Regions from separate parts of the Homo sapiens genome. Here region 2 is linked to region 1. Evidence: promoter capture Hi-C in human tissues and cell types (Jung and others, 2019). All regions are on one chromosome and are shown on one strand. The core of a region is centred on a gene start or on the middle of the fragment in contact, and the rest is flanking DNA. Distances in the headings are between cores, read along the strand shown. Region 1 holds the start of FBLN5 (fibulin 5). Region 2 has its middle 30 kb from the start of CATSPERB.

Region 1 (5,324 bases), core at 1,953-4,452:
GGTATTTGTAAACCTGTGTTCATAGCAGCATTATTCACAATAGCCTAAAGGTGGACGCAGTCCTTCGATGGATACATGGATAAACAAAATGCAGTCTGTACACACAAGGGAATAGTATTCAGTCTTAAAAAGGAAGGAAATTCTGACACATGCTACAATATGAATGAACCCTGACTGTATTATGTTAAGTGAAAAAAGCCACTCACAAAAAAGACAAAGTCTGCATGGGTCCATTTATACGAGGCACCTAGTGTAGTCGAAATTACAGAGACAAAAAGTGGAATGTTGGTAACCAGGGGCTTAGTGGGAGGGGAAGATGGGGAATTGTTTAATAGGTACAGAGATTCAGTCATGCAAGGTGAAAAGAGTTCTGGAGATTGCACAGCAATGTGAATGCAGTTAACACTACTGAACTAGACTCTTCAAAATGGTTATGGTAGAAAAAAAGACAAAATCAGGCTGGGCATGGTGGCTCCCACCTCTAATCCCAGCACTTTGGGAGGCCGAGGTGGGTGGATCACCCGAGGTCAGGAGTTTGAGACCAGCCTGGGCAACATGGTGAAACCCCGTCTCTACTAAAAATACAAAAATTAGCCGACTGTGGTGGCAGGCGCCTGTAGTCCCAGCTACTCTGGAGGCCAAGGCAGACAAATCACTTGAACCCAGGAGGCAGAGGTTGCAGGGAGCCGAGATTGCGCCACTGCATTCCAGCCCGGGAGACAGCGAGACTCCGTCTCAAAAAAAAAAAAAAAAAGAAAATCTAAACAAAAGCAGAGCGTTATCTAGTACTATTATTCAGTTCAACAGCAGTTTATCCAAGCAACTACTGCTTGTGGGTGTGGATGCCAGATGGAGGAGCTACAGAACTGTGAAACAACCACTACCCTTGAGAACCAGTTGGGGAGCCACGACAATGTCCATACACCTTGGCAAGGGCATGGAAAGAAATACCTATTGGGTGCCATAACAACCAGGCTGTGGGTAGCAACAAGACTTCCTGGAGAAGGTGATCTTGAAGGCTTCTTCAACAGAGCAGTGAACCTGGGGACATGGCTGAATTCTGGGGCCCGTTACTACAAACGTGCACCACAACAATATAATCCCTCCCTTTCAGGACACATGGCCCATCTGCATCAGCAACCCTGGGTATTAGAGGACCTGGAGTTAAGCTGACATCCAGAGGGAATAGGGCCCTGATACGATCTTAGGAGATGCGAGGCCATTTCCTTTATCGAGTCCCCAATCCAAAAAATAAGGACGCTGAGAGTCCACAAGTTTTCATGTAAGTGCCTGGGTGAGCCAGATTCTAGAACGCTGGAGACAGCTCTGACCTTATAAAGTGCAGAGCCAAATCCCAGGGCTTTTTGATATTTGCCATGGCCAGATTTATATCTGGAAGGAATGAAAGAACAATAACAAATTTATTTTCCAGTCTGTGTATTATGAATTTCAATGTTTTCCTGTTTCTTCACATGAAGTTTCCTTTCAGTTGGTTATAAAACCCTGTCTCGTTTATGTTGGAGAAAGAACAGGCTGACTGCAACACAGTGGACTTCAAGAGCTAGTTGAAAAGGCATGCTAACCCCATCTTTCCCCCTACTCCCCGCAGCCCCATTCCCTTTGGCTAGAGGCAGCCCTGGGACAGGTCTTGCCTCAAGCCCAGCCTCTTGGAAGAGCCACAGCTGAGTCCTGGGGGCCAAACAGGTTCCAGGCTAATAGGATTTTCCTAAAATGAAAGAATACCCAAGCACTACTGCCTCACAGCATCACGAATAGCTGCACCTTGTGATTAAAAAAAAAAAACCCTGGAAACTCCAAAAATGAACTAACTATAAGAATAGCTGGGGGGAGGCAGGTTGGTGCTCATAACCGGTCCTGGGAACTTTCTAAAGCAGGTGGGTTCGCCGGTGTTGTGCCTCAGCCTGAAACACAAGGAAAGCCGGAGAGACCAACCAAATACCAGGACTGCCTGTCACAGAAGTGCTGGTCCCCAATCCAGGATGACATTGTTACAGCTTAGTTTTCAGCACACACACACACACACACACACCCCACAGACACATACATACGCACACAAGGTTAATTTGTTCAAAGCAGTATGTTTTCAAGAGCTCGCTGAATAAAGACTGTGGGTGTCATTTAGGTAAAGTTCTCCAAGACTTAAGGATTACTTAACTGTAATTGCAATTTCCTTAAAGAATAGCAAAACATTTGCTTACATGTATCTCTGTCTGCAGTTCCCACTTCTCATTGGCTTGAAACTTCTGTGAGAATCCCACACAAACATAGAGCAAATCCAGCCCCGCGGTGTTCAGCTAGCCTGTCTGCTTGTCTATCAGCCGATGCGGCGCAGTAATTGCTAGTGAACTAGTAATTGGCCTCCCGAAATTTAAAAAATACATACAAAAATCCCTTAAAACGACAAAGTTGCTGCCCTTTCCAGAAAAGAAAGAGGAATGAAGCGCTGAGAATTTCGCAGCCCTCTCTGATGCTGGCTTTTGAAACTGTATTAGAAAATACCCACTCCCAAAAGAACGCTTCAAGATGGAAATTACAGAGGCGCAGCTTTTTATAATTAACAATATCATTGCATCACTAGCTCATGCCTTTTCCAATATCCTGACACCGCCTGAATCGCAGCCATAACCATTTTCCACCCATCGGATTTTTAGCAAGGCTTCCAGACCCTGGAGAAAGAAAAGTCCAGCGCCGAGAACCCACCTTTTTATTCCTGGCATGTCCAAGACGCGCGAGGAGGAGATGCGAAGGCGAGAAGAAAGCTCGCGGGCGGGACCCCCGGAGGAGCTCGGGCACGTCGGCCTCCTCTGGGCCCTCGGGGCTCGCGGGTGTTTTATTCCAGAGGGGCCGAGCGAGTCGTGGAGAGGACACGGGGAGAGCGCCGGGGTCCTCCCAGCCACTGCAGAGCCCTCAGCGCAAGCACCTGGTTTTGCTTAGCCCTCTTCAGTAATTCAGCATTAAACCAATTGGAGGAGGAATGTTAAAAATGAACACTTCATTTTCTAAGTATGTTAAACAATGCAAATGGGGCCTCAGTCTGGACACAGCTGGTTCAGATTACAGCGCTCACCAACTGGCTAGACTCCTCACAACAATCTTGGGGCGTCTGCCAGGGCCCAGTGCTCGGCGCTGGGAGGAGAGCCCTTCCCCGGCCGCGCTCGGCTGCGAGCGCCCGGGCAGAAGGCGAGGGGCGGGCGCGCGCAGGGGTGCGGGGGCTGGGAGGGCCCGGGCCCCTTGACCTTCCCACCCAGGGGCGGGGCGGGGCTGGCAGCGCGGCCCGGCGGGGAGGGGCGTGCACGCCCGCGCTGCGTGGCAAGGGGACCCGCGAGAACGTTGTCGCCTCCGGAAGGAAAGGGACTTGAACTCACGACCCACGCAGCTCCAGGGACTAGAAACTCACGATCGATTGGGAAACCAGAACCTACGAAGCAGAGGCTTGGGGCGAGCGACGGGAGAGTCGCGATCTTCCCGAAGAAGGGGTGGGGAGCAGCGGGGTGGGGTGGGGGGGAAGAGGATGGAATCCCGCTGGTGCGAATTCCAGACTTCAGCTTGTGCAATGCAAGTCTTAGGACGCTTTTCTCTCCCCGCCCTCATTCCCCGATTCTCCCTGGCATTTTCTCGCTTTCCTGGAAAAGTGTCCCCTGGCTCGAAAGTGATTTTAACAAGTTAAACGGTGATTTGAAGAAGGGACAGTCTGGAAAAGCAGAATGGTGGAGACAGCACATAAGACATGCTGAGTCCTTTGCATTCATTCTAGTGGAGGCTTCAACCTGTTTCTTTTTCCTGTTTGTTTGTTTGTTTGTTTGTTTGTTTTTAAGCCATTGGAGTACTTTTGTCAATGAAATCTTACAGAAGGCACTCACTCTATAAAACGCCAGTGGATGGACTGTGGCCTATCCCATCTGCTTCCACCTGCATCTTCCTACCTGCAGCCGAAAAGCCCTGATCCAGGTCCCCTGTCCTCACCACCACTCTAAGCAGTAGGAATGATCATCTCCATGTTATTAGAGGTGAAGATAAGAGAGGTTAGGTAACCTCCCCATAGTCACGCAGCTATTCATTGGTACAGCTGAGCCTCTGGAGTCTACATATTTAGCCTTCCCTAAGGCATTTTTGGGGGTAAGTAAATGGAATTCTACCCAAAGGAGAATAACAGAATGTGGATAGTTGTTGAAGCTGTGTCCATTATACTAGTCTAATCTATTTCCTTTTACGTGTTTGAAATTTCCTGTAAAACACTTTTTTAAATACCTTATGTTTATAAGGTTGTTCATCCCCCCATTGTTTGTAAAAGCAAAAGATTATAAACACCTTTAAGGTCGATCAGCAAGGCACCAATAGGGTTAAATAAAGTAAGGGGCTTCCAAAGGGACTATTGTGCAACCAATTAAAACCTAGACACTTAAGAGTCCACATCAAACGACTCCATTTATATAAAATTCAAAGTCAGATAGTGACTGGGAGGCAGCCCAGCCCCTTCTGGGTGCTGGTAATAATCTAATGATTGATCTGGATGCTGGTTATGTAGGGGTGTGTACATTTAATATTTGTGAAGTCTTATGTATGTTATATCTTATTTTGAAAAAAAGACTGAAACAGCTCCGTATGCACTGCTATTGAAGGGTTTCCAATATATTTTGTGGGTCAAAACAGTAGAATATTGGTAATTTCACATAGATTGATCTAATATAGTAATAAATGTAAAAAGTAAGCTGCAGAACTGTGTGTAAAGCATGCCATCATTTGTGGGAAAAAAAATAAATACATAAGTTCTTGCTTGTACACGTACAGAAAAGACATCACCTGAAGGATGCACAAGAAACCATGAGTATTATTGGTCTTAGCTCAGGCTGCTATAACAGAATACCATAGACTGGGTGGTTTATGCAATAACATTTATCTCTCCCAGTTCTGGAGGCTGGAAGTCTGAGATCAGGGTGTGGGCATAGCCAGGTTCTCATGAGGGTCCTCTCCTGGTTGCAGATGACTGTCTTCTTGCTATGTCCTCACATGATGGAGAGAGGGAGACTAGGGTTCCTTTTTTTGAGATGGAGTCTCACTCTCTCGCCCAGGCTGGAGTATGGTGGTGTAATCTCGGCTCACTGCAAGTTCTACCTCCCAAGTTCAGGCAATTCTCCTGCTTCAGCCTCCCAAGTAGCTGGGATTATAGGCACGCACCACCGTGCCTGGCTAATTTTTGTATTTTTAGTAGAGATGGGGTTTTGCCATGTTGGCCAGGCTGGTCTTGAACTCCTGGGCTCAAGCAATCCATGGGCCTCGGCCTCCCAAAATGCTGAGATTACAGG
Region 2 (5,324 bases), core at 1,963-4,462, 180 kb before region 1:
TGCAATCTAGTTTTGAGTAGGAGAGGTGAGTGGCATGGGCTCCAGCCACAGGTGTGGGAGTTAGATGCCTGATATGGATTGGATCTGTGTCCCCGCCCAAATCTCATGTTGAATTGTAATCTCTAATGTTGGAGGTGGGGCCTGGTGGGAGGTGATTGGATCATGGAGGTGTTTCTCATGAATAGTTTAGCACCATCCCTTTGGTCCTATTCTTGTGATAGTGAGTGAGTTCTCATGAGATCTGGTTGTTTAAAAGTGTGTAGCACCTCCCCACTGGATCTCTCTTGCTCCAGACACGCCTACTTCTGTTTTGCCTTCTGCCATAATTGTAAGCTTTCTGAGGGCTCCTGGAAGCTGGGCAGATGCCAGCATCATGCTTCCTGTATAGCCTGCAGAACCATGAGCCAATTAAACCTTTTTTCTTTATAAATTACAAGTCTCAGGTATTTCTTTACAGCAATGTGAGAACAGACTAATACAATACCCTCCCTTTGTGGTACTGAACTGGGAGGGTTTTAGTCTGATAGCCACAATTTTGACCTAGGCAGGAAGCTTTACAGCTTGAGGCAGTTTCATGGTCTGAAGACAAACTTCTTGTGACTTGCTGCCGGTGTTGGACTGCAGGAGAGAGCCTCACTGGGTCAGGAGCACGAGAACAAAGTGGATCCCACTACCACATCCCACCCCTCCTGTTTCAGAGGCATATCATGGGACCAGGACTACTGAGAGTTCCATGGCCCTACCCATCATCTGAAATGCCCAAGAACTTCTCCCGATTAACAAAGGTCAAGCATAAACTCTATTGCCACCACCACAGCTGGTTCTCACTTTTAGGTGCTACCTCCTGTCCTAAAGGTTGATCTACACAGTCCCTTACAACATCTGCCGACTCAAGAGCACAGAGCTCAAGAAGGAGACAAGCTTTGCATTGCCTCTGTTACCATCATTGCCCACGCCACCCAGGCTACTCAGGAGGCCTTGAGCCCACTCACCCACCCAGTACATCACTACTACACTTGGCATTTGAGAAAGCTACCACACAGGTTACTTATAACCAAGGAAATCATACAAAATCTATGCCACTGAATGTACCCAGAAGCAAAGCCAAATGACCCTACTTAACAAACACCATAGTCGCATCCTCAAGAAAAAAAAGTCCCACCCTAATGAAGGTAAAATTAAAAATAAGAAGCAGCAACTGGGCTGAGCACAGTGGCTCATGCCTGTAATCCCAGCACTTTGGGAGACCGAAGTGGGAAGACTGCTTGAGGTCAGGAGTTTGAGACCAGCCTGGCCAACATGGTGAAACCCCAACTCTACTAAAAATATTAAAAAATTAGTCAGGCATGGTGGCACACACCTGTAATCTCAGCTACTCAGTAGGCTGAGGCACAAGAATCATTTGAAGCTGGGAGGTGGAGGTTGCAGTGAGCCAAGATTGTGCCACTGCACTCCAGCCTGGGCAACAGAGCAAGACTCTGTCTCAAAAAAAAAAAAAAAAAAATTCTGGAAATGAAAAATTCATTGAAAGAATTACAAAATACAGTTGAAATATTCAATAATAGACTAGACCAAACAGAAGAAAGAATCTTAGAATGCAATGACTGGGCTTTTTTTCTCACTGAATTAATCCAGTGAGAAGAAAATAGAGAAAAAAGAATTTAAAAGAATAAGCAAAGCCTTAAAGAAGTATGGGACTACATAAAACAAGCAAACTGATAAATCACAGGCATTCCCAAGGGAGAAGAAAAAGCAAAAAGTTTAGAAACACTATTTGACTCACGCCTGTAATCCCAGAACTTTGGGAGGCCGAGGTGGGCGGCTGGCGGATCACGAGGTCAGGAGATGGAGACCATCCTGGTTAACATGGTGAAACCCCGTCTCTACTAAAAAAGTACAAAAAATTAGCCGGGCGTGGTGGTGGGCACCTATAGTCCCAGCTACTCAGGAGGCTGTGGCAGGAGAATGGCGTGAACCCAGGAGGCGGAGCTTGCAGTGAGCCGAGATCGCACCACTGTACTCCAGCCCAGGCGACGGAGCAAGACTCCGTCTCAAAAAAAAAAAAAAAAAAAAAGTATTCGAGAAAATAATTGAGGAAAACTTCTCTAGTCTACCAAGAGATTTAGACATTCAGATATAAGAGGCCCAGTGAACTCTAGGAAAACATGTTGCCTCACGACAACATATAGTCATCAGATCATCTAAAGTTAACATGAAGGAAAAAAATCCTAAATTCTGCAAGAGGAAAGCAGCTAGTCGCCTGATACAGTTTGGATGTTTTCTCACTCCAAATCTCATGTTGAAATATAATTCTCATTGTTGGAGGTGGAGCCTAGTGGGAGGTGTTTGGCTCACGGGGGCAGATTCCCCATGAATAGCTTTGTGCCCTCCCTGAGATAATTAGTGGTGATGGATTCATATGAGATCCGGTTGTTTAAAAGAGTGTAGCACCTCCCCTATCTCTTTCTTGCTCCTGCTCTTGCCATGTGACACAATAGTTCTCATTCACCTTCCTCCATGACTGTAAGTTTCCTGAGGCCTCACCAGAAGCCAAGCAGATTCTGGTAACATGCTTATACAGACTGCTGAACCATGAGCTAAATACTTTATAAAATACTCAGCCTTGGGTATTTATTTATAGCAATGCAAAAATGGCCTAACACATCACCTATTAAGGAAACTCCATCATACTAACAGCAGACTTCTCGGCAGAAACTTCAGAAGCCAGAAGAGATTGGGATTCTATTTTCAAAGTGCTTAAAGAAAAAACTGCCAACCACTAATCTTGTATCCTGCTGGAATAAGCTTTATAAATGAAGGCAAAATGAAGTCTTTCCCAGAGAAGCAAATACCCAAGGAATTTGTTACCACTAGACCAGTCCTACCATAAATGTTAAAGGAGTTTTAAACATGGAAGTGAAAGATCAATATTTGCCATCATAAAAACATATGACAGTATTGTCAATGAAAAGAGTTAAACTCTGTAAAATATTTGAAGAAACTTATTCTGAGCCAAATATGAGTGACCATGGCCCATGACACAGCCCTCAGGAGGTCCTGAGAACATGTGCCCAAGGTGGTTAGGATGCAGCTTGGTTTTATATATTTTAGGGAGACATGAGACTTCAATAAAAAAAATTTAAGAAATACATTGGTTTGGTCCAGAAATGCAGGACAACTTGAAGTGGGGGCTTCCTGCTTATAGGTAGATTTAAAAACTTTCTGATTGACAATTGGTTGGGTTTATCTAAAGACCTGGGATCAATAGAAAGGAACGTCTGGGTTAAGATAAAGGATTGTGGAGACCCAAGTTCTTATTTGCAGAGGAAGTCTTCAGGTACTAGGCTTCAGAGATCATAGGTTGTAAAATGTTTCTTATCAGACTTAAAGTCTGTGTTGATGTTAATGCCAGAGAGGTATAATGAGGCATAACCAACCCTCATTTCCCATCATGGCCTGAAACAGTCTCTCAGGTTAAATATTAAAAGAGCCTTGGTTGAGGAGGAAGTCCATTCAGATGGTTGAGGGGGGGCTTAGTATTTTATTTTTGGTTTACAGTATAAAACTCATAGGTCTTATAAAACAATCACACAGAGAGGACAGGGGAAGAAATCAAATGACAAAACAACAAATGACCAAATCACAAAGACAGATGGACAAAAAAAAAAAAAACCAAAGAATCTACAAAGAAACTAGATAACAATTAATAACATACTAGAAACAAAACCTCACATATCAATATTAACCTTGAACGTAAATGTATTAAACACTACACTTAAAATATATAGATTCATGGAATGGATTAAAAAAAAAAAACATGAACGAACTATATGCTGCTTACAAGAAACTCACCTTACTGATAAAGACACTTACAGTAAGGAGGTAAAGTGGTAGAAAAAGATATTCCATGCAAATGGAAACCAAAAGTGAGCAGGAATAGCTATACTTATATCAGATAAAACAGACTTTAAATCAACAACAGTAAAAAAAAAACTACCAAAAAAAGTTATTATACAATGCTAAAGGGATCAATTCAATGAGAGGATATAACAATCCTAAATATATATGCACCCAATGCTATAGCACCCAGATTCATAAAAACAAATATTACTAGACCTAAAGAGGGTAATAGACAGCAATACAATAATAGTAGGGAATGTCAACACCTAACTCAGCACTAGAGAGATCATCAAGACAGAAAATTAACAAACACTGGACTTTAATTGGACTTTAGACCAAATGAACTTGACAGACATTTACAGAAGATTCTACCCAAAAACAGCAGAATGTATATTGTTCTCATCAGCACATGGAGCATTCTCCAAGACAGTTCAAAGAAGAACTGGTACTGAACCTCCTCAAAATGTTCCCCAAAATTGAGGAATCCTTCCTGACTCATTCTGCAAAGCCTGTATCACCCTGATATCAAAGCCAGACAAGGACATAACAACAACAACAACAACAAAAACTATAGATCAATATCCCTGATGAACACAGATGCAAAAACCCTCAACAAAATACTAGCAAACTGAATCTAACAGCACATCAAAAAGATAATATACCACAATCAAGTAGGTTTTATTCCAGGGATGCAAGGAGAGTTCAACAAACACAAGTCAATAAATGTGATTCACCACATCAACAGAATTAAAACAAAAACCATACGATCATCTCAATAGATGCAGAAAAAGCATTTGATGAAATTCAGCATCCCTTCATGATAAAAGTCCTAAAAAAAGAGGTATAAAAGATCATTATACAAAATAATAAAAAGCATATATGACAAACCCACAGCCAACATCATACAGAATGAGGAAAAGTTAAAGGTATTCCCCCTAAAAACTGGTACAAGACAAGGATACCCACTTTCACCACTCCTATTCAACATACTACTGGGAGTCCTAGCCAGAGCACTCAGGCAAGAGGAAGAAATAAAAGGTATCCAAATTGGAAACAAGAAAGTTAAATTATCTGTTTGCTGACAATATGAGCTTATACCTAGAAAAGCCCTAAAGATGCCTCTAAAAGGCTCCTAGATTTGATAGATGGATTCGGTAAAGTTTCAGAATACAAAACCAATGTATAAAAATCAGTAGCATTTCTATATATCAAGAATGATCAAGTTGAGAACCAAATCAAGAACTCAATCCCATTTACACTAGATTAAAACATATATCTAGGAATATATTATTTAATGAAGGAGGTGAAGATCTCTATAAGAAACACTATAAAACACTAATTTTTAAAAAGTATTAACAGATGACATAAACAAATGGAAAAATATTTCAGGCTCATGGAATAGAAGAAACAATATCATTAAAATG

The links. The method cuts DNA at HindIII sites, captures the fragments that hold promoters and counts their contacts. A contact is called where the count stands out against the background at its distance.
Region 2: a contact is called between a fragment that was not itself captured here and the fragment with the promoter of FBLN5 in region 1, in 3 of the 25 tissues and cell types used here (aorta, mesendoderm cells and pancreas).

Annotation. Positions count from the first base shown.
Region 1 is chr14:91,944,492-91,949,815 of GRCh38, forward strand. FBLN5 (fibulin 5) reads right to left here and starts at 3,203. Exons shown (of 11, transcript NM_006329.4): 1 at 2,722-3,203. The coding sequence starts at 2,738. The HindIII fragment of the contact is 12,789 bases long and covers 1-5,324 here.
Region 2 is chr14:91,759,618-91,764,941 of GRCh38, forward strand. No RefSeq gene overlaps it. Among named protein-coding and RNA genes, the nearest start is that of CATSPERB, 30 kb to the left of the region's middle. The HindIII fragment of the contact is 5,541 bases long and covers 443-5,324 here.